Linked DNA regions of Homo sapiens: regions 2, 3, 4, 5, 6 and 7 are each linked to region 1. Evidence: promoter capture Hi-C in 16 types of primary human blood cells and fetal thymus (Javierre and others, 2016). All regions are on one chromosome and are shown on one strand. The core of a region is centred on a gene start or on the middle of the fragment in contact, and the rest is flanking DNA. Distances in the headings are between cores, read along the strand shown.

What was found. The method cuts DNA at HindIII sites, captures the fragments that hold promoters and counts their contacts. A CHiCAGO score of 5 or more calls a contact.
Region 2: a fragment that was not itself captured here is called in contact with the fragment with the promoter of UMAD1 in region 1 in 3 of 17 cell types (fetal thymus, erythroblasts and megakaryocytes); the score reaches 11.8 in fetal thymus.
Region 3: a fragment that was not itself captured here is called in contact with the fragment with the promoter of UMAD1 in region 1 in 1 of 17 cell types (erythroblasts); the score reaches 6.1 in erythroblasts.
Region 4: a contact is called between a fragment that was not itself captured here and the fragment with the promoter of UMAD1 in region 1, in 2 of 17 cell types (M0 macrophages and erythroblasts). The highest score is 9.5, in M0 macrophages.
Region 5: a fragment that was not itself captured here is called in contact with the fragment with the promoter of UMAD1 in region 1 in 10 of 17 cell types (fetal thymus, erythroblasts, non-activated CD4 T cells and 7 more); the score reaches 13.8 in fetal thymus.
Region 6: a contact is called between a fragment that was not itself captured here and the fragment with the promoter of UMAD1 in region 1, in 10 of 17 cell types (M2 macrophages, M0 macrophages, fetal thymus and 7 more). The highest score is 8.8, in M2 macrophages.
Region 7: a contact is called between a fragment that was not itself captured here and the fragment with the promoter of UMAD1 in region 1, in 14 of 17 cell types (total B cells, naive CD8 T cells, naive B cells and 11 more). The highest score is 10.1, in total B cells.

What each region holds. Positions count from the first base shown.
Region 1 is chr7:7,638,969-7,642,286 of GRCh38, reverse strand. It overlaps UMAD1 (UBAP1-MVB12-associated (UMA) domain containing 1), which reads right to left and starts at 1,535. Exons shown (of 4, transcript NM_001302348.2): 1 at 1,466-1,535. It overlaps RPA3 (replication protein A3), which reads left to right. Exons shown (of 8, transcript NM_002947.5): 5 at 1,112-1,967; 6 at 3,143-3,217. The coding sequence starts at 1,869. RefSeq lists enhancers at 1,075-1,244, 1,325-1,374, 1,415-1,614, 1,885-1,934, 2,305-2,354 and a silencer at 1,715-1,844. The HindIII fragment of the contact is 10,351 bases long and covers 940-3,318 here.
Region 2 is chr7:8,296,818-8,300,135 of GRCh38, reverse strand. All of the region lies in intron 3 of ICA1-AS1 (ICA1 antisense RNA 1), which reads right to left. Among named protein-coding and RNA genes, the nearest start is that of ICA1-AS1, 36 kb to the right of the region's middle. The HindIII fragment of the contact is 4,184 bases long and covers 1-3,318 here.
Region 3 is chr7:8,273,293-8,276,610 of GRCh38, reverse strand. The region is part of intron 3 of ICA1-AS1 (ICA1 antisense RNA 1); the gene reads right to left. Among named protein-coding and RNA genes, the nearest start is that of ICA1-AS1, 13 kb to the right of the region's middle. The HindIII fragment of the contact is 797 bases long and covers 1,085-1,881 here.
Region 4 is chr7:8,250,173-8,253,490 of GRCh38, reverse strand. All of the region lies in intron 1 of ICA1 (islet cell autoantigen 1), which reads left to right. Among named protein-coding and RNA genes, the nearest start is that of ICA1, 10 kb to the left of the region's middle. The HindIII fragment of the contact is 704 bases long and covers 1,261-1,964 here.
Region 5 is chr7:8,220,793-8,224,110 of GRCh38, reverse strand. It overlaps ICA1 (islet cell autoantigen 1), which reads left to right. Exons shown (of 14, transcript NM_001136020.3): 5 at 2,713-2,836. Among named protein-coding and RNA genes, the nearest start is that of ICA1, 40 kb to the left of the region's middle. RefSeq lists an enhancer at 2,063-2,619. The HindIII fragment of the contact is 840 bases long and covers 1,222-2,061 here.
Region 6 is chr7:8,201,877-8,205,194 of GRCh38, reverse strand. The region is part of intron 6 of ICA1 (islet cell autoantigen 1); the gene reads left to right. Among named protein-coding and RNA genes, the nearest start is that of ICA1, 59 kb to the left of the region's middle. The HindIII fragment of the contact is 3,510 bases long and covers 18-3,318 here.
Region 7 is chr7:8,185,371-8,188,688 of GRCh38, reverse strand. The region is part of intron 6 of ICA1 (islet cell autoantigen 1); the gene reads left to right. Among named protein-coding and RNA genes, the nearest start is that of ICA1, 75 kb to the left of the region's middle. The HindIII fragment of the contact is 1,615 bases long and covers 955-2,569 here.

The DNA.
Region 1 (3,318 bases), core at 286-2,785:
GGTATGTGCTTATAGTCCCAGCTACTTGGCAGGCTGAGGTGAGAGGATCGCTTAAGCCTACGAGTTAAAGGCTGCAGTGAGCTATGTGCATGCTACTGCACTCCAGTCTGGGTGACAGAGAGAGATCTTGCCTCAAAAAAAAATGCTATTAAAGACATTGATGTGTGTACTCTCCCCTATATAATGCACATCAACTTGCTTTGCAAAACAATGCTAAAGTACAAAAGACTTAAAGCTGTAATATAAAATAGACTTTACTGACTTGCACCAATACAACCACAACTTTTTTATACACCACTGACACACATTCTACATCTGTTTAATGAAATCCTTTAAAGTACCGTTAGTGAGTAAAACTAAGACAAACCTATTAAGTGCTAAGGAAACACTAAGGGAGACTATCATTTAATTATCGTACATGAGATTCCAATCTTAAATTGCCACGTGAAGTCTCAAATCGGATCTTTTTTGCTTAAGGGAATTTGAACGATGACAATTCTGTAGCTTTGGGCCAATTCACAGACTCAGTTTCCACAACGTTATAATACCCAATTAAAACTTCTGTCCAATTTCCACCGTACCGTTTGAAGGTATTTTTATGTGCACTCATTCTAGAATACTCCTGGCAAGGCCGCCGGCTTCGGGTCACAAGATGAGCCAGGGACAGATTGGAGACTACCCCCAAATCTCCCAGGAATCGGTTATCTTCCAGACCTCCAGATCGCCCTCCAGAGTCTCGCAGTGTGGAGGGCAACGACAGAAAGACTGCTGAGGGGGTTTAAACTGTTGAGTCAAACATATGGCCAAAAGTCAGAGTCAACTGGGACCTTGCAAATCATTCCGCCTAACCCTTCGTTTTGCAGATGGGGAAAACACGCCTCAGAAGGGAGAACCCTAGCTCGGGGAACCCTAGCTCGGGGTCTAACAACGATTTAAGCTTGTCTCCCCTAGTACTGGCCAGTGGTTCTTCCCCGTTACCCATCCTTAAGTGCTTCTATTGGCTGCCAACACGGAGGGGTTAGCGGGGTGAAAGAACCGGCGCCTCCGCAGTGTGGCCAGGTTGGGCTAAAAAACGTCTTAGAAGTAATCGGATCAATCTCTCTTCTTACAGGTGGAGAAAGTGGAGAAAGTAGAGTGACGCAGCTAAGGGAGTAAATCGACCCTCAGCCAACAAGTGGCAAAAGCCTGAAGAAAGTGATCAAGATCACTGATGACCCCGCTGCCCATCTCCAAGGGGGCGGGTATCACAACCCCGACGCCACACCACGTATCATTCCGCAAAACTCCCGCGCCTCCCACGCAGAACTGGCAAGAGGGAAGGCGAGACAGCAGTGAACAGCTGGTACGCAGCACCCACAGCACCGCGGCAGCAGCTAGTGCCGACTCCCGCCTAGCTCTTTTGACTCTGTTCGCGGGAAGAATGGGGAAACAGTAAGGTTGCGGCGCCTCCCGCGAGACGAGGTACCTGAGGCTGGCCCCGCAGTCCCCCGCCGCACCAGCACCGGAGCTTCACACCCCACTTCCGGGGTCAAGTCACCGCCGGGAATCCTGTGATCGCAGAAAGGTAGTCTCAGGTTCCGCCCCTATCCAAGTCCCGCCTCCACTGCCTCTCGCCCTGTATCTGTCAACTTCCGGGACGCCGCGCGTCACTAAGCAGCCAATCTCCACTTCCGGACTCATCCAGCCCCTTCTCCACCCCTTTCAGAGACAGCGCGATTGCGATTTAGGTTTCCGCGCATTTAATTGGCGAAGCTGGAGCGCTAGTCTTCGCTGATTGGTGCCGAGAAATCTGCCCCATAGACACCCGCGGGGCGCACAGTTTCAGTCGTCCGTGGGTTTCCCGCCAGCCGCAGTCTTGGACCATAATCATGGTGGACATGATGGACTTGCCCAGGTCGCGCATCAACGCCGGCATGCTAGCTCAATTCATCGACAAGCCTGTCTGCTTCGTAGGGAGGCTGGAAAAGGTGTGCGGGTTCGCAATCATGGGCTCCCAAGTCCGTAGCTGGAGGGAGGGACCCCGCCTGGATAACGGGGGATGAAAAAGGACGGAAAGCCTCCGATCACTGCGCCCCCGACTCCTTTATTTTGCACAAGGAACTTTTTGGAAATTCTTTAGCCGTTGTAGCCCCATTTTGGCGCTCTTTTATGGCACGGAAACAAAGTGTTTTCAAATGCTGAGTTCTAAATTCCAGTGCCCGTCGCCTCCGTTCTAGCCGTGCTTACGTAAGGGAAATTATAAACACCACTCCCACATCTACCTTCAGATTTCTTAGTTTACTCAGACGTGACGGACGCAGACAAAACTAATCTGCTGGTTTCCTTCTCTTCTGAAATTACTTATTTTTGCAAACCTCGTTTCCTCGTTGTGATCGCTTCTCTGTAAAACATGCCTTGGTTGTCCGCTTTGGGTCCCGTAGTAACGAGTTATTTAACCCCAGTATTAAAGTGAAGTTCCCTCATTCTACAGGCGAGAAACAGGCCCAAAGTCTTGGAATCAGTGACCTGAAAAGCTGAGGAAAAGAAAACTATTATATAAAGACTTATTTAGTAGCTCATTTCATCCACACATCCTCTTCCTTAAATGAGTGTTGCTCTGACTTCCCAAGTAGGGAAACTGAGTAGGAGTGGTAGGTGGTTGACTAAAATGCTCAGAAACTCGGCAAATGGCAAAGCTGGCATTCAAACGCAATCTGACAGCGCTCTTTACAGCTGCTTCCCAGGAGTAGGACCCAGATATTCTAGCAACCAGTTCTCCTTTTACTTCATCATGCCTGTTTTTTAAAACATACCCTCCGTGGGATATGTACTGTCTAAATCATGAGTGCCAGCAGATTTCACTTTTAGGGTGGGCATCCTTTAATTTGTTATCAGAATAGGGTTGCCATATTTAGCAAATACAGAACCTACTTAACACTACAAAAAAAATCCTTGTTTATCTGAAATTCAGAAATTAACTGTGTGTTCCATGAACAGATTTGATAACATAAGATTATAATTTGATCCAATAAGTTGAATAAACTGAATGAATAAACTGTTCAAGAAACAGTTGATTTGTGCTCAACTAAGGATCAATGTACTCATCTTTAGTCAAACTTTGTTGTTGTTTTAGTGAGATTTTAATTATATGTTTCGTTTTTAGATTCATCCCACCGGAAAAATGTTTATTCTTTCAGATGGAGAAGGAAAAAATGGAACCATCGAGTTGATGGAACCCGTATGTTTAAGTGTTAATAAGTCTCTTATATATTATAGTTAATTCTTCATCTTGATTTGGTTTGTTGCCGATGTTTCTAATTTTTGCAATGGATTTAAAAA
Region 2 (3,318 bases), core at 496-2,995, 660 kb before region 1:
TTCTGGCCAGGGCAATTAGGCAGGAGAAGGAAATAAAGGGTATTCAATTAGGAAAAGAGGAAGTCAAATTGTCCCTGTTTGCAGATGACATGATTGTATATCTAGAAAACCCCACTGTCTCAGCCCAAAATCTCCTTAAGCTGATAAGCAACTTCAGCAAAGTCTCAGGATACAAAATCAATGTGCAAAAATCACAAGCATTCCTACACACCAACAACAGACAAACAGAGAGCCAAATCATGAGTGAACTCCCATTCACAATTGCTTCAAAGAGAAAAAAATACCTACGAATCCAACTTACAAGGGATGTGAAGGACCTCTTCAAGGAGAACTACAAACCGCTGCTCAAGGAAATAAAAGAGGATACAAACAAATGGAAGAACATTCCATGCTCATGGGTAGGAAGAATCAATATCGTGAAAATGGCCATACTGCCCAAGGTAATTTACAGATTCAATGCCATCCCCATCAAGCTACCTATGCCTTTCTTCACAGAATTGGAAAAAACTACTTTAAAGTTTATATGGAACCAAAAAAGAGCCCGCATCACCAAGTCAATCCTAAGCCAAAAGAACAAAGCTGGAGGCATCACACTACCCGACTTCAAACTATACTACAAGGCTACAGTAACCAAAACAGCATGGTACTGGTACCAAAACAGAGATATAGATCAATGGAACAGAACAGAGCCCTCAGAAGTAACGCCGCATATCTACAACTATCTGATCTTTGACAAACCTGAGAAAAACAAGCAATGGGGAAAGGATTCCCTATTTAATAAATGGTGCTGGGAAAACTGGCTAGCCATATGTAGAAAGCTGAAACTGGATCCCTTCCTTACACCTTATACAAAAATCAATTCAAGATGGATTAAAGACTTAAATGTTAGACCTAAAACCATAAAAACCCTAGAAGAAAACCTAGGCATTACCATTCAGGACATAGGCATGGGCAAGGACTTCATGTCTAAAACACCAAAAGCAATGGCAACCAAAGCCAAAATTGACAAATGGGATCTAATTAAACTAAAGAGCTTCTGCACAGCAAAAGAAACTACCATCAGAGTGAACAGGCAACCTACAAAATGGGAGAAAATTTTCGCAACCTACTCATCTGACAAAGGGCTAATATCCAGAATCTACAGTGAACCCAAATTTACAAGAAAAAAACAAACAACCCCATCAAAAAGTGGGCAAAGGACATGAACAGACACTTCTCAAAAGAAGACATTTATGCAGCCAAAAAACACATGAAAAAATGCTCACCATCACTGGCCATCAGAAAAATGCAAATCAAAACCACAATGAGATACCATCTCATACCAGTTAGAATGGCAATCATTAAAAAGTCAGGAAACAACAGGTGCTGGAGAGGATGTGGAGAAATATGAACAACTTTTACACTGTTGGTGGGACTGTAAACTAGTTCAACCATTGTGGAAGTCAGTGTGGCGATTCCTCATGGATCTAGAACTAGAAATACCTTTTGACCCAGCCATCCCATTACTGGGTATATACCCAAAGGACTATAAATCATGCTGCTATAAAGACACATGCACATGTATGTTTACTGCGGCATTATTCACAATAGCAAAGACTTGGAACCAACCCAAATGTCCAACAATGATAGACTGGATTAAGAAAATGTGGCACATATATACCATGGAATACTATGCAGCCATAAAAAATGATGAGTTCATGTCCTTTGTAGGGACATGGATGAAATTGGAAACCATCATTCTCAGTAAACTATCGCAAGAACAAAAAACCAAACACCGCATATTCTCACTCATAGGTGGGAATTGAACAATGAGATCACATGGACACAGGAAGGGGAACATCACACTCTGGGGACTGTTGTGGGGTTGGGGGAGGGGGGAGGGATAGCATTGGGAGATATACCTAATGCTAGATGACGAGTTAGTGGGTGCAGCGCACCAGCATGGCACATGTATACATATGTAACTAACCTGCACAATGTGCACATGTACCCTAAAACTTAAAGTATAATAATAAAAATAAATAAATAAATAAAATAAAAAAAAAGGAAAAAAAAATTAAGAAAATTTATCTTCACTGACTCAATGTACAAATAAATAAATGATAGCAAGGCCAACTGCAGCTCTAAATAGTAGAGAATATAAATGATTCAAGCATAAAATGGTCAGAGTTCCCTGAATAAATATTTTCCTACAGTCATGTATAAATAATTCTGATTTCTGTCTGAACCACCTGTCTGCGTTCCTAGGGAAACTAAAGTGAATACATGCCTGTCTGTGACTCTACTCCCTGTATCAAAAGCCAAAGTGGACACAGCTACAGAGGGGAGAGAGGTTGTCTCCACATTCTGTTGTTGGATCACTCTCTTATTCACAATCGTCCCAGAAGCCATAGACAATAAAGGAAGGAGGAGCTGATGCAAAGGAATTGGATAGGGAGGTTCTCACCCTTCCATGTGTGCGGATAGTTTGGGTGTGTTGTAAAGACTCCAGACCACGCTCCAGACCATCTAAAGTTCCGGCTTCCATTTCTAACTGCCCTTACTAGAGCCTTAGGAAAAGCATTTAAATGCACTGCGACTTGGGTTGCTTCTCTTACATAGTAAGGAAAGAACCAGGAACAGACAAGATAATAATGATGATAATTTTTTTTTTTTTTTGAGACGGAGTCTCACTCTTTCGCCCAGTCTGGAGTGAGTGGCACAATCTCTACTCATTGCAACCTCTGCCTCCCAGGTTCAAGCAATTCTCTTGGCTCAGCCTGCTAAGTAGCTGAGATTACAGGTGTGTGCCACCACGCCCGGCTAATTTTTGTATTTTTATTTATTTATTTATTTACTTTTAACAGAGATGGGGTTTCACCATGTTGGCCAGGCTGGTCTCAAACTCCTGACCTCAGGTGGCTGCCTGCCTCGGCCTCCCAAAGTGCTGGGATTGCAGGCGTGAGCCACCACACCCGGCCAATGATGATACTTTTAAATAGTATTGAAAAAAAGAGAATTAAAGCACCATGGTGGAGACCGAGACTGGGAATGGTGAGAATTCTGAGTTAACCATTTTGGAGAAGGATTAAACTGGAGGTGCCGGTCACTCTGCACTAAAGGAAATATTAAGATTCTACACATCACAAATTGAGAATTTAAATGTGAGAGGGAAATAGTATGCATTTCATAAAAGTACACTTGCTTATGTATTCATTTATGTATAAAAAATTAGAGTTGTGGGAGACAAGAGAACTAGGATTCAGAAAGCAGGGGTAAGGACCTCACCACCATCAAAGGGAAACCAAGAAATTATGACAAACAAAATGAAGATTGAGA
Region 3 (3,318 bases), core at 234-2,733, 630 kb before region 1:
AGCTTCAAAGAGTACTCATGTCTGTGTGGCAGCCCTAAAGATTGAGATTTAGTTGGTCTGGGTGTGGCCTAAGTTTTGGGATTTTTAAAAGATACCCTTTGATTCTAATGTGCGGAGAGTTGGGGAAAAACTAGACTAGCCTCCAATCACCTAGATGGTAGTGAATGAAACTGGAGTTCAGGTGTTTTGACATCAAATTAATACTCATAGAATTATATTTGACATAAAGCTCAAATATAATAATTATCCTCAACTAATACCCATTGAATTTTACGATAGAGAAGGGTTTTCAGATTCTTCTGGCCATAAGAATCAGCTGAGTTAGTTGTCAAAAATGTAGAATCTCAGGTCCCTCTACCAAAGTTTTCTATTTGGAATTGCATGTTCCCAGCCATAAATGGGTGCTAAAATTGTGTACACATAGACATAGTGGAATGATAGGCAATGAACACTGGGAAGGGTGAGAGGGTGGAAAGGGGGCAGATGATGAGAAATTAATTAATGGGCACGTTATTCTGGTCATGGGTACCCTAAAAACCCTGACTTGACTACTACACAATCCATGAATGTAACAAAATGGCACATGTACCCCATAAATTGTACAAAAAAAAAATCTGATTTCGAAGGAGCCTGGTGAGTGTACATATTTCACAAGTGTTTACCTGATTTGGGGGATAAAGTAAATTTGGAAAATCTATAATAGAGAATATCAGACCATGTAGTATTATAAAATAGTAGTATTGAGTATCAAAGTTTGGTTTGAAAAATGGCTAAGAATTAATGGAGAGACTTTATCAAAACACAGCCAAGAGAATTAACACCCCACCCTCAGAGGGTCTAGTTGTATACAAACTATTCACTCATCCATTAATTCAACACACTTTGATTAAACACCTAACATTGTACATTCAAGGCACTATGGTGGATGTGTAAGGGAACACACAAGCTGGGCAGAGTCTTTGCCTTCAAAGACCTAATTGCCTAAGTATATCTCTTGTGGGAGAATGCATAATGTTTGAGCTGGGTCATGGTTATAGGTCCAATGGCTCTTGTTTTTCTAAGTGAGAAAGATTTCATTTAAGCTTGCTTCAGCAAGCATTTATTCAGAGCTCTAGTAACTGTTTGGGACATACAGATAAAGTTGCAGTAGTAATGGTGGAAGTGGAAAAGGGAGGGCCAGGGGTTTCTTGGGGACTCCAACCTGGAGTTGAAGGACACACTACAAGTTTGGCGTTGGCAATAGGAGACAGTGATTGTTCTTGGTAAATATATGTCCAGGAAAAGGAGGAGGCTGAATGTGGGGGGTGGTGACCAGGAGAGGACATGCATAAATTAGTATTAGAAGGTGAGAGGTGAATAAAGAAAATTAGGACTGATAAAGGCTTCGAATGTTTAGATTAGGTATTGGATTTTGAGGTAACCCGTTGAAAATTTTATAGTTGGGACTGAAGCCAATCAAAATATTATGTAATTAGCTTCATACTTAAAGAGTAACTCAAAGACCTGAGTTGTCTTCTATTACTTGACATATCATCTCCCATCCCACCACAACCCACACACACATTCGATTCTTAGCATAAAGTAGTCACAAAAAGTATGCAAATTATGTATTTTGTGATTACCTAAGCTGATTTTGTATTGGTTAAAATACACAATCCTAGGTGGAAGATGTTTTTAAATTCCAGGTAAGAAGCAGGGTTAGAAAGGCAATGGAAATAAGAATGAGAAAAATGGATATGACAGCTGAGAGACACTATAAAGGAAACTGCAATTTCCTGTAGTGAATCATAGACTTGTAATGAACCAGAATTTAGCAACCAATTGAGCACATAAGGTAAACTACTAGGAAGGAATTCAAAATAACATTGAGGTTTTTAAGCTTGCCGAGATAAGAAGAAAGAGCTCTGAGAGAAAAAATACTTTTCGGTCACATCAAGTTTGAGATAATAAATGCTTACTGAATGAATGATAAGCCATCCTACTACTCTGGGAATAAAATAGAAAACCCTAGTTATACAGATATAAAAAAATCAGTTCATGCTCCTCCCTTCCCATCCACATCTGTACAACCTTAGGCCGCCAAAGAGGTGATGAGACTCCTAGAGCCACTTCTAGCCTTTTCAAATTCCAGTGTCTTGCTGCAGGTCTCCTATATCAGCTCAAGGATGTCACCAAGGAATAAAGTCACTTGAAATATGAGAAATATAAGAATAAGCCAGTGTAAGGGTCTCTCCATCAGGGAGTGTCCAAGATTTACCTAAGCAAGTCATATTTGTCATGGCAGCGGCAGCAAGAGGGGAGGAAGTCATGGACTTTCAGCACTAGAAGACTTTTAGCACTAGACTAATCTCAAAGGTTATTAGAAGGTCATTAGAAGAATTGAATATTACACAGTAAGGAATTTCAGACGTCATCTAAACTAGTATTTCCCAACATTTTCAAATGTGAGGATCTCTTTTATTTTGTTCTGGTGTCAAAATTTAAATCTTTATTTTTGTCAATTACAAAATACTATATGTGCACTTTAAAAATTCAAACACTACCAAAGAGTATAAGTGAAAATACAACTTTCCCCCACCTCCAATGTCAGCCAAAAAAAGATCACTCTGCAGAGATAGCTTCAGTTAACATTTTAGTGAATATCATTACAAGATTTTAATGTTACATAGAAAATATTTGCATAAACAAAATCATATTTCACACTGTGTTATACAAGCTGCTATTTTCACTTGAAAAAAAAATCTTGACCTCATCCTTTCAACAGCTGTCAATGTTCCAACATGTAAATGTACCATAATTTTGTTAACTAATCCTTCCTTTAGATGGACGATTACTATTATTATTATTATTATTTTTTTGAGATGGAGTTTCCCTCATTTTCCAGGCTGGAGTGCAATGGTGCGATCTCAGCTCACTGCAACCTGCGTCCCCCAGGTTCAAGCGATTCTCCTGCCTCAGCCTCCCAAGTAGCTAGGATTATAGGCACTTGCCACCACACCTGGCTAAGTTTTTGTATTTTTAGTAGAGATGGGGTTTCACCATGTTGGCCAGGCTGGTCTTAAACTCCAGACCTCAGGTGATCCACCCACCTTGGCCTCCCAAACTGCTGGGATTACAGGCCACCGCACCCAGCCAAGATGGACAAATTTTTTAACGGTATAAACTGTGTTGTTGTGATTGCCATATTCACACATTCACTACTATAAACTTCCATATTATTTCGGCAAGAAAAAATTCTAAGTGGACCTACTGGGTCAAAAGATATGTACTACTAACATTTTGTAATATTACCAAGTTGCCTTCCATAACGGGTGTAAA
Region 4 (3,318 bases), core at 363-2,862, 610 kb before region 1:
ATATGTATACATTTTACATTTGTGGATACATATTGTATATATTACATCACATTGTCCTTACATTTTTACTTCTGATGGTCTTATAGTAGCCCACCACTTCACTTACTATTCACATAAATCTAATTTGACACAAATAGTACATTGTGCACACAGATTTGGACCTTTTTAAACTTGTAAAAATATGGAGTACAATCATTTTGTAGGTTATTTCAAAAGAAGATACATATGATTTTATTTTTGTAATGACATCTCTGACAGAATGTCAGAGATTCTGAGCAGAAATAACTGTTTAAGGGTATTTGTAACTAGTACAGAATATTGGTGACCGAAGTTATAGAATTAATTTCTAGCTCTTTTTTGATTTGTTTGATGCCTTAGACTGAGGCTCTCCAACAAAAATATAACAGCAGCCACATATATAATTTAAAACATTCTAGTAGTAAAATATTTTTGGCTTAAAAACTAAAAAGAAATAAGGTGGGGGCTGTGGCGTGTGCCATGCTTATAATTCCAGCTACTCAGGAGGCTGAGGTGGGAGGATTGTTTGAGCCTAGGAGTTCAAGACCAGCCTGGGCAACACAGTAAGACCCTGTCTCAAAACAAACAAAAACTAAAAAGAAACAGCTTAAATTAAATTGATAATTTATTTGATCTAACCCAAAATATTCAAAATATTGTTTCAACGTAAAATATAAAAAAGTAATAAATAAGCAAAAAATATAATTAAATATAAAGCAGAATATATAATATACATATGTAAATATGTAATATATAAATGTAGTTATATAAAATTTAGATATATACAATATATCAACATGAAATAATTTTTATAACTATAAATACATGGATTTATTAATGAGACATTTTAATTTTTTGTTACTAAGTCTTCAAAATCCAGTGTGAATTTTACATTTAGAGCTCATCTGAATTCATACCAGCCGTATCTCAAGTGCTCATATTACATGTGGCTAGTGTCTGCTATATTGGACTGCATAGTCTTAGATGATAAAGTCAATTTATCTGAGGTTATTCTTCCATAAAAAGAAAATTTAAGTTGGTGCAATTCTTTAAAGTAAGATTTGTAAGAGCCTTCCAAGTTTTATAATTTGATCCCAATAAAATATAAGGATAACATTTAGACCTATGATTTAATAATGTTCTGTGCTGACATCGAAGGGCGTAGTATTCCTTCACAGAACTTGATCGAGACTTTTATCTGATTAGGGTGTTCCTTCATTCTTCAGCTTTTGAAATTAAGCTTTTAGAGAAAACACCACCATAAATACAGAGTAAAATCTGTATGTGAAATTTGATTTGATATTTGAAATTTATGTAAACCAAACTAAATAAAATCAAAGGTGAATATAATTTATACTGCAAACTTTTAAAATTACTTTTTTCTTTAGCAGAGGTAACCCATTTGTTCTGTTTCTAGTGTTGTTTTACACTTTATATTTTTATCTTTCTAGATTTCTTTTAGGTTTGTGGTTTGCAAATACCTACCTCTTTGTTATTACTGCCATGATTTTTGGTGTAGCACAAAATTCACCATCGATCATCCTTTGAAAGGAGGGCTTTAAGCAAAAGAAAGAGGAGCAAGACCTAGACCACACTTTTTGTGAGCAGTTTGAGTTTTCTGGTTTGTTTTTAATTTGTTTTACATGGATATAATATTTAAAAATTTTACAATAATATTAATGCTGAAGATGACATTTTAGAAAGTAGCTTGGCAATTTTATTTTGGTTTCTGTTATATTTGATATTTTCCTTTCAGAAACATCTCTTGGAATAGATGAAGAGACAGAGGAGAGCACCAAATTGTTAACTGGCTGATGAATGTTTCATTCCCAGCATTCCTCTATGTGAACTTGACCTTTAACCTGATCTTGGACAAGTCATCTCTATTTTTAGAACCCCAATTTTTTAATCATTGAAAAGGATGTTGTGTTCATTATCTCTAAGCTTTATCTTAGATGTAAATGTCTCTGAAAATAATTTGAGTTTTTTATTTTTGTGACTGGGGGCATCCTAGATGGCCACTTGCCTAGTCTACTGTTTTACAGATGAGCAAAGTGAAGCCAGATCGCTGAAGTGATGACTAAGTGTGTGACATAGTCATGGATTTACCAGCTTTTATTTATATCAAGGAGCATATTGGGAAACCTTCAAAATACATACTTTAGGAATGTGATTTTAATAGTTTTAGGGAGTCATTAAACTTAATCATTGTATATAACTTAATCATTGTATATAACACCTGAGTTCTTTTGAAATGTAAATAAAACAATCATTTAAAAATATCTGGCTGGGCACAGTGGCTCATGCCTGTAATCCTGGCACTTGGGGAGTCCAAAGCTGGTGGATCACTTGAGCTCAGGAGTTTGAGACTAGCATTGGGAGGCATTTTACTAAAAATAAAAAAATTAGCTGGGCCTATTGGCAAGTGCCTGTAGTCCCAGCTACTGAAGAGGCTGAGGTGGGGGGGATCACTTGAGCCCAGGAGGTCAAGGCTGCATGAGCTGTAATGTCACAATTGCACTCCAGCCTGGGCAACTGAGCAAGATCCTGTCTCAAAAAAAAAATTTCTTTAATAAAAGAAAATATCCTAAGACTTTAGTTCATTAACAGAAAACACAGATTTTAACAGTGGCTTGCATCTGTAGTGTTAAAATAAAAACTCACCTTTTAGCTACCATGAATAAGATCACAATTCTGTTTTCCTCTTGGTGATATTTGCTGACTCACAAAATTAAAACATGATCCCATTTCACATTTACTTGTGAATTTATGAAATATCAAAAATCATTGCAGAAGGCACAAAACTGGAAACAGGATCCATTTAAAGTTGTGTAGTCACTCAATCACCCAGGCTGGAGTGCAGTGAGGGGATCAGAGCTCACTGTAGCCTTGTGTGCAGTTGTGTGGAATGCTCAGGTAATCGTGTCCACGTCAAAAATCCAAAAGGACAAGCTGTATGATATCTCAGAGGTAGGAAAAACACCCATTAAAAACTCATCAAAATCGTGTTACTTTAATTAATACCTAGCTTTTGAAAAGATGGAAGGCTAATTGAACTTCCCATCCTCCATGGGAATGCCCATTTCTCAACCACTTGAGAACAGGATTTGATGAATCAGGATTTTAAAAATAATAATTAATATGGTTAATTATGCCTGGAGGAATTGTTCCAGTTTTTTTCACTGCTTCTACTGAAACTATTTTAATATTTATACTCAAATACACTTCTCTCCATAAGAAATTGTAAAAATCATTATTGACATAAGAGGAAGTGACAGAGACAAACATCTAGGAAAAATG
Region 5 (3,318 bases), core at 392-2,891, 580 kb before region 1:
TTCGTGTTTGTGATTATGTTTTATTTTCTATCTCCTGCTGCTTGAATATAAGCTCTGTAAGTGTGGGGAACTCCTTTATCCTCTTCATCACTGTATTCCAGTGGCAAGAACTGTGCCTCGTATGTGTTGGATCATCCATAAATCTGTGCTGAGTGAGTTAATGCTGTCCAGCTAATTAATTTCATAGTTCCATAGTTGCCTTGTTTTTAACGGCACATCTGAAAACCTAATTAGCAAGTAAATATAAAAATGTTTTTGTCTCTGAATTCTCAAGTCCCAGATAATTGAAACCTTATTAATAGAACATTTTGAGTTATCTTTTTTTGTTTTTGCTTTCTTCTTGTAATAGAGACAGGGGTCTTGCTATGTTGCACAGGCTGGTCTTGAACTCCTAGTATCAAGCAATCCTCCTGCCTCTACCTCCCAAAAGTGCTGGGACTGCAGGTGTGAACCACCACACTCAGCCCTTTTGCGTTACCTGATACCTATGTTATACCTGAATTTTAAACTTCTGTAAGTTAATTTCAGTATTTGAATTTTTAAAATTAAAGAATGACCATCCCTTCTCAGAAAATCTAACCTTGACCCTGATGGAGCTCACACTTCTTTCCACTGCCCTCTGAGTAAGTATTGCCAAGTAATCAGAGTCAGCACCTAAAATGAAACCTGTTTGCTGCCCCAAGTTGATCCACAAGTGCCTAAAATGACCGAAAATTATTTTTAAATGTTTCAGCCTACTTAGGTTTATTTAGGAAAGAGTACATTTTGTCAACCATGTAATTATTCAGGTACCACAAATTGGTTTCTTCCTAGCCTTAAGCTAAATGCATTCATTTGTATGTGACTTGAGACTTCAAGGTAAAAAGGGTGACAGTAGCCTCACACGATTAAGATCAAAAATGAGACATTGCTTTCCATAGGGAAAGATTCATTGTGGAATTGAGTGAGGCACATATTAATCAGTGGGGAGGAGAAGGAATGGAATGTATTAAAAAACAAAAAACCTTCTTATAATTATAGGAATTTTAAAAAGCTACATAGAACCATGGCGTGAGTATTAAAAGGCAATAAGTATTTCAACTGAAATAAAGTGTATGAGGATAACAAGGCAAAATTGTAGTCAATTCAATTCACAAGCATTTAATTAGCACCGTGAATTTAAGACTTTATGCTCAGCCTGGGGAATACAAAGTTTGGGTGAGATCCCTGTCTTGGAAAGCTTAGAGCCCCCTGGGGAAGAGAGACACATGCCCAGTCACACAAGGTGAGTGCTAAGTCAGGTGCCCAGAGAGCACTGCTGTCCGGAGAAATAGGGATCAATTGCTTCACAGAGAAAGGAACCTGCGAGCAGGCCTTTGATGGTGAACTTGATTTTTGAGAGACAGAAGAGAAGCAGGGTCATCATTTATCTCTCAGGAAAAATGGATTCTAAAAGCCTCTTCTTGACTGGGCCTTCCCAAGGGAATGTTTAGGGTGAAACTATAGTCACAAATTAATAAGGTAGCAGTATCGAGTTTAGCCTTCACCTTTGGATTTGTGGTTCCTGCCTAATGTCCTACAATTATTGTTAGTGAGATTATGTCAGGAATGGGGGTGCATTCTTAAAGAAAAGTGACTGGTTTGTGAAAGCTGACAAGAATCCTAGTAGCATTTAGAAAGCAGTTTTAGAGACACAGGGTATGTAAATACATCAATACAGAAATAGGAAATAAAAGTAGTGTTCAAAGTATGTTGATAGTAAATGCTGTGTTTAGGGGGAAAGCACATCCGAGGAAGCTAAGTGTCACTCTGGTGCCTGTGGCTTGGCTGCTGGTGTGTGTTCAGGACCCCCACTGTACCATTATGTGGGTATGCTGTATTTTATTAAACTAGTTCCTAGTATAAGGAGAGTGTTTCACTATTATAAATAATGATGCTATGATTGTTTTTGCATTTACATCTTTGTGCCCATTTTGCTACTTCCTTAGGAAGTTCTCCTAACAGTAGACATGGAGAGTCCAAAGATACATGTAATTCTATGATTTTTTAAATGTTTACCGTCAAATCAGTCTGCAGAAAGCTTGCACCAAATCACTTACCCACCAATAATACCATCTGAGGTTGTCTTTAAAAATAAGGCCAAGATTAGGCATCACCAATTCAGATTTGGTTCCAGCTCTGTATTTTTAAAACCCACTGTCATCAACCTGATGACCTCCCCACCCTCCGTCCCTACCCCCACTTCCAACCAAAAACCTGTGTCACAGCTGAGGTATTTGAATTGCTTTACAATGGAATAGAATGTAACTCAAAAAGCAGAGATCAAAAGTCAGCAGGAGAGAATAATGAGAGGCAGCTAGCACTGCATCCTAGGCAGCCACAAAAGATTCCCACAGTCATACTTGACAAACCCAACTCCTTTATTTCAGCTCGAAGCCGCACACTATGGGCTTACGTTTCAGTACAGAGGTCATTTTCTAGTTCTGATTACAGGGCACCAAACTCACTGACAGATGTATTCAAGTGAATTTGATCTCTCGTATTGTAAATGGAAGAACAGCCTGAAAGTTAAATGGGGGGTAGGGGGAGCTTACCCTGTAGCCTGCCGCTTAGATTTAATTTCATCTCGTCTTCGCCTCTGGAAGAGAGAGGACCTTGTGATTTGTCTTTCTTGTTCCCTTTGCAATCAAAATGCTCATTGTTCATGGCTCCTTTTGGTCTTTTCTTCATCAGTCTTGTCTCAAGAAGAAAACGAACTGGGAAAATTTCTTCGATCCCAAGGTTTCCAAGATAAAACCAGAGCAGGAAAGATGATGCAAGCGACAGGAAAGGCCCTCTGCTTTTCTTCCCAGCAAAGGTGTGTGGCCTTTAGTGGGGTTCTATCTGGGGGGATCTGAGGAGACTCCGGGACCCACCTACTCACGAAAGGGAATCTCACAGTGTTCTTTAGAAGGATTTTGCCTGAGGCTGAGGAGCTGCTCTGTACTCACTAGTTAGGCAGTTTGTACTTAACTCTCTAATTAAGATTAACACATAGGATTTTTTTTTCCTCCCTATTAATTAAAAAAAATTTTTTTTCATTTTTCTGTTGGTCTGTAGGGGCATTATATATGTCAATCACTATGAGTGCTGTCCTAGGCTTATGTTTGACCTTCAGTGTTGCTTGTAGCAATCAGTCTGGTCCCCTTCCAGCAGCTGATTAAAGCAGGAGCCTAATGAGACCAGGTTGAAGGGTTCCCTCTCTGCTCTCTGTGGACCAATTAACTTCAGAGAGGTGCTGTTCTCATGCCCAGGTCCACACTGCTCAGACCCTGGACCATAACCCGGGAGTGTGTTAGA
Region 6 (3,318 bases), core at 523-3,022, 560 kb before region 1:
CTATGTCAGCTAAAGCTTTTATTGGTACTTATGATCCAGGCCTCCGTCTGCTTTTCATTAATTCTCTGCTGAAAGAATTAGCTTAGCCCACCCCCCCGCCTTTTTTTTTTTTTTTTGCATGTCTTCCATTTTAAAATAAAAAGCAACAGCTAAAAGTCATGATGTGAAACCAGACAATGGTTAGATTTCGTAAGTTAGACTCCCTCTTCCTTATCCTTAGTGTATTTTAGGTTTTAGGCAAAACCTATTAGATTCATTGTGGACTTAATTGTCCCTCCTTTCTCCCTGGCATGTCCCCATTTTCCCCACTGTTCTGCAATGTCAGCTAATAAATGGTGCAAGTAAAGTTGACATTAAGGAGATGACAATAGGAAAGAGTATTTTGAAAATATAATGAAGATTTGATGAACTTTCTTACGATTTAATCCAGAAAATAAGAAAAACGTACTTTAAAAGAACGTTAAACATGAGTTGTGCAAAAGTCAAAAGACTGCTCATTTTTTGTTTAAAAATATCTTTTTCTTAGTACAAAAGCACAGCAGATATTTAAACTCCACAATGAACAATGTGATAGGTTTATTTATGTAAGAAAATTAACATATTTGAATTTTTTCCCAGCCTAGAGTTTTCCCTAACATTCTGCCTTGTAGATAGATGTAGCAGCTCTTTAAATATGTACATAATGCAGAATATTTTTGATTAAATATTGGTAAAGTTCTCTACAGTTTACAAAGCTGTTTCATATTCATTACTTCGTTAAAACTGCACAAGAGTTTAGCGAGGGTATGAATTCTTTTTCCCATTTCACAGATAAGACCACAGGGCAGCCATGACTGACTTGCCCATAGCCATACGTGTGAACTAGAATTTGAACCCAAGCCTCTGACTCTAGAGTCAGTGCTCTTCTCGGCTTTCCAGCCCCATATTACTACAATCCGATAAACAGATCCTTGTGTGATATTAGGTTACTATTGGAAAAAAAGGTTTCTGGGGTAGAGGAGACCTGGCTTCCTGTTCAAGTAGCAGTCACATCTTCCAGCACATGCCACGTCCTCTGAACTCGTTTTTCTGACCCCAGTGTTTCATGTTCCAAGCACCCTTAAGGAGTATTTGGGCTTTTTTTTTTCCTTCTCACCAATCTCTCTGTCTCTTGAACATCCAGTCACATTTCTGGGTTTGGCGTTTCACATTTCTGTTCTACCTTATTCTGGGAGTCGTTTTTTGAGGTGAAATGGCAGGTCTAGAGCCTGAATTCCTTGGGGTCTGTCTGGCGCCTGAATCCTGCAAGAGTAGGCTCAACTCAGGGACCCAAAGCTGAGGCTCATGGTTGGAAAGTAGACATCACAAAGGCCAGCATCCAGCAAAGGATCCTCTGCAAATTGCCCCACAGGTTTAAAGCCTGTCACTGTTGAAAGGTTTGCGGTCATAAGAGGAAAGTAGCAGAAGCCCTACAGCAAATAGGCACAGAAAATTAACAGGCCCCCTGCAGACATTTCCAGTGAAGAACATCTCAACTCACTCTGAATTAGGGCCTCTCTGGCCTGAGTTGAGTGTAAGAATCCTCTGAGAAGCAAGTTGGATGTGGAGAATCCTGGCTTCTACCTAAGGATTTTGATTCTGGAGGCCTGGGGTGGGGCTCAGAGATCTGACTTTTAATGGGCTCCCAGATAATTCCTTTTCTGGGATCCATAGATCACACCTTGAGAAATACTTTCTCAGAGCACCATCGTGAAATAGCTGATGTTCATGATGATGACTGATCCATCAAAAAAGGCAATTTTGCTCTATTTTAGAAGATAGACATTTAATAAGAGGTATCTGACTTATATGAAGATTTCTTATGTCTTAACTTTTTTTTTAATAGAATATGCTTTACCTACATGGAAAAGTCACTTAAACCACTGGATTTCCCAGGAACTCTACTATATTAAGGCTTAATGTGCTTTTTAGTACTTACATGCATGTTTACCTAAGGCTTAGAGCCTAGAAATTTGTATATCACAGACACTCAAAAATTACTTATTTTGTTTATCTAGAATCAGTACTAACCTTTCTAACGAAATCTCTTCTCCTGCTTCAGCTAAAGCCCCCTTGGTGTTCTCTAGGTTGATACAGAAAACTGAAAGAGCTAGAATGGAGCCCCAGGTTAGTTAATATCTATTATTGAATACTCAGCAGCAAACAATTCTGACAGTTAATGTACCCATGTTAATCACAAGGAATTTGCCAGGAGCACTCTGACACTGTCCTGTCCTGATATGCATGTTAAAATTGCCCACAGGTTCACAAAGGAATCCTCCCCTCTGCATTTTCCCCCATTCGTGCGGTGTGTCTATTGCCTATAGCTGGTTCTTCCTCTTAGGAGTAATCAGCCTAAGACAGAGCAGGCTCACCACCAGGTCCTACAGATGCCTCCATCATTTTACTCTGCAGTTTGTTACAGCTAACATTATTCTTAAGAAATATCTTCCTGGCTTGGAGGTAATTTCTGTGGTGAGTACCAAGATGTTTACTAAGCTGAGAAAAAGTCAAGGGTGATATAAAAACAGTAATTCTCATTCATCCCCAGAATGGCATTTCTGTGCTTGTGGGAATGCACTAGAGGTTCTGAAATCATAAATGAAGAATGTCAGAAATACAGTACTTTGACATTTTTTGACAAAGATGTAGTTAGCCATTCTTGAACAGAATAAAAGAAACTTTGACATTGAATGTAAAGTAGAAGTGATAACAAAATTAGCACATTTAAAAAGTTTATCATGTATCAGCTACAGTTCTAAGCAATTTACATGAATGGGCTCGTTAAAACTCCCCAAGAGGAAGACACTATGATCTCCTTTTCACAGATGAGGATTTTGACGCTTAGAGAGGTTACATAACTGTCTCAATGTGACACAGTCAGAACATGTCAGGGCCAGGTGGAAGGGATTATAATTTGACTCAGACCACATTGACACATGCATCCCCTTATTTTCTGGAACTAAAGCAGTTTCTTCATGAGCAGCATGATGGGGTCTTCTACACTTGTCAGTTGAATAAGGTTAAGAAGCCTCTGTTGTTTCAGTTTAAATGTTGAGTCAATCAAAATTTGGCTTCCTCTGTACTGTTTTAAATCATCTCTTTTTGGATGCCCTTTCAGAAGCATTCTCTGCCCCAGGAGGGAGGGCATTGGGCTGACTGTGTCCTGGGGGTAGGCAGGGGACATGGTGTCCTTGAGGCCACTCCCTGTCCCCCGGTTTCTTGCTTATCTTGCTGCAGCATCTGGGCTTGCATGGTGAGTTCCTGAAACCTGTGGCCAGGGGAATGCCTGGTCTCCTT
Region 7 (3,318 bases), core at 513-3,012, 550 kb before region 1:
TTTAAAATATTCCTTACCTCCCAAAATATTTCTGAAGTCCCAGCTACCTCTTGCTGTCCTATATTTATAATGCCCTAATTATAATTCTACCAAAAATCCCTTCTAGGCTTCCACCCTTACTCCACACTCACTTTTAAAATAGTAACAATCGAAGTGATTCAAAGAAGTCACCTGTCATTTGGAAGGTGGCATAACAGAGTGGTTCAGGTTGGAATCTTGACTCTGTGCCTTGATATCGGACATTATGAAATTATGTCGGTATGAAGGTTCCTGGGCAAGGAAGCGACCATGGAAGAGCAGTTTTGAGGAGAGTTAATTTTGGTAGCTCTGTGTAGGATGCTACAAGAATGGAGAGGAGGGAAAAGATGAGAGATTTTCAGCGTAGAAATGATGAAACTTAGAAACCAAATAAGTGTGTCATTATGCAATGTGAACTTATATAACTTTCCTGTACTCTCAAAGTATCTTATTTATTTTGGTTCTATGAAAGCAGTTTGATAATTATAACTGGAAAATCTTTTCTTTTCATATAAATAACAAAACACCCCAAGAAAACATTATCTAAGAGTTTTTCCAATCCCCATTCCATTATGTTCCCTTAGGATGCCTTTAGCGTAAGAAACAGCCTGGTGCCTTGGTGAGGAACTCAGTCTCTGCAGTGAGCATCTCCTGGGTTCAAACTGTGGCTTCCCCACTTCGTAGCAGTATAATCTCAGGCAGGTTTCTTAACTTCTGAATATTTCAGTGTCTTCATCTGAAAAATGGAGACACAGTCAAGTACCATATAATGACATTTTATGATGGTGGTCCCATAAGATAACAATGGGGCTGACAATTCCTATTGCCTAGTGACATCTTGATGATACTAAATCTGTGCAAATCTGGGCTAATGTGTGTCTTAGTTTTTAACAAAGAAGTTTAAAAAGTGAAAAAAGTTAAAGATAGAAAAAAGCTTATAGAATAAGGATATAAAGAAATCTTTTGTACAGTTGTACAATGTGTTTGTGCTTTATGACAAGAATTATTACAGAAGAGTCAAAAAATTTAAAAATGTTTAAAGATGTTTATAAAGTAAAAAAGTTACAGTAAGCTAAGGTTAATTTATTATCAAAGAAAGAAAAACATTTGTTATAAATTTAGTGTAGTCTAAGTGTAGTGCTTATGCAGTCTAAAGTAGTGTACAGTAATGTCCTGGGCCTTCACATTCACTCACCACTCTCACTCACCCAGAACAACTTCCAGGCCTGCAAGCTCCATTTGTGGGAAGTGCCCTACACAGGTTTATCATTTTTATCTTTTATGCCATATTTTTACTGTGCCTTTTCTATGTTTAGATATGTTCAGATACACAAACACTTATCATTGTGTTACAATTGCCTACAGTATTCAGTACAATAACATGTTGTACAGGTTTGCAGCCTAAGAGAAATAGGCCATCTCATGTGTAATATAATGCTTTGTAATATAATATATACTTTGTAAAAAAGTATAGGTGTGTAATAGGTGCTATATCGTCTAGGTTTATTTAAGTACACTGTATGATGTGTGAACAAGGACAAAATCACCTAACAACATGTTTCTGAGAACATGTCCCCATCGTTAAGTGACACATAAGTGTAATCACGTCAAGCTCATAAGATTCTAATGAGGATTAAATCTGTAATATTTGTCAAGTTCTTAGAACTGAGTGTGGTCCATATTAAGCACAACATAAACATTCTTGTTGCCCAATTTTAAGTGTTTGATATATAAAATAAATGCAAAACAAGATAATAGCCTGTGTGCTATACTGAGATATTGAATAGCTTATCTTTTGAGAAATGGAGACAACATTACTGGAATAAGAATACAACTCTAACTAGTTTTCATATTTCCCCTTCTCAGTGGCACGTTGAGGCCCTGTCACTTATATGTAATGGAACCCATCAAATTGAGTACATTATGCATGAAAGTACACTTGTGATATCTTACCCTGATCTGCCCCTTTTCCTGCCCTCCTTGTTTTTGTTGACCTCAGCTTGAAATCTTAACTTTAGATTCAGCTTCACTTTCTTCTTTTCTGACCCATTTATTTGGTTTCAAAATCTCATCATTTCTTCCCTGGAAATCTCTCTGTCATCCATCCCCTGTCTCCATTTGTATAGCAGCCTACACAGAGCTGCCAACCTCATCTTCCTGAAAAACCACTCTACTGTGGCCACTTCCCTGCTCAGGACCTTCAGCAGCTCCCCATTGCTTAACAAGCAAAGCCCTCAGCCTGTCGTTCAGAACCACACAAACCCAGCCCACTCTCCTTCCCTAGGTCCAATACTGTATTCCCAACAGCCTATTCTCCACAGTGACCAGATGATTGCTGTGTCTGGCATGGTCCACATTTATGTTTGTTGTCCAGGCTTCACTATTAATGATGCCCTCTTCACTCAGAGAGCGTCCCTGTTTGGACAATAAATTGTATGGCCACCCTGCTGTTATCCCATTAGCCAAACCATGTATCCCAGGATTCCCTGTCTCCTCCCCCTGTTCCTTTCATCTGAATTGCTGTCGCTTGATCTGTGCCTATCCACAAGCTTCCCCTTTTTCAAAGGCCCATTCAAATGTTACTTCCTCCACTCTTTCAAAACTCTCCCAGGGTTCTTTATACAACCACTCTTTTGCCACCTAACACTTCCTAATGTGTATCATGATTATTTATATGCTGTATAGCTCCTCTTTCAGAATACGACCCTTGAAGAAAGAAACTGTGTCTGATTAACAAAGTGTTTCCTGTAGCATCTAACCCAGGCTCCTACATGCCTGGAAAAATAACAGACATCAGTTCTTGAGTGCTTACTATGCACCAAGCACTGTATGTATAATCAATATACACTTTAGATACCATCTGTATATATTATCTCATTTAATCCTAACAATAGCTTTGAAATACTGTGTCTCTGTTTACTAATTTGGAAATTAAGGCTTGGATCAAATGACCTTGTTCTAGATCACAGAAGCAGTAAGCCTAAATAGAAACATTCGAGCCCAAATTTCTCTGACTTCAAAGAGCATGCTCTTAACCTTTTCACTCCAGGCAGATGGTTCTTAAGATTAAGTATGCAGCAGGGTCTTCTGGAGGGCTTGGTAAAATGTATTGATGTGCCCCATCCCAGTTTCTGATTCCGTAGGCCCAAGTTAGGGCCCAAGAATTACATTTCTATCAAGCTCCCAGGTGATGCTGATGTTGCTGGTCCAGACAGTACACTGAGCGTAAGTAAGCATAATCATTCGTTGATGAATAAATGGATTGGTGGGTGGGTGGATGGATGGATGGATGGATGTGGA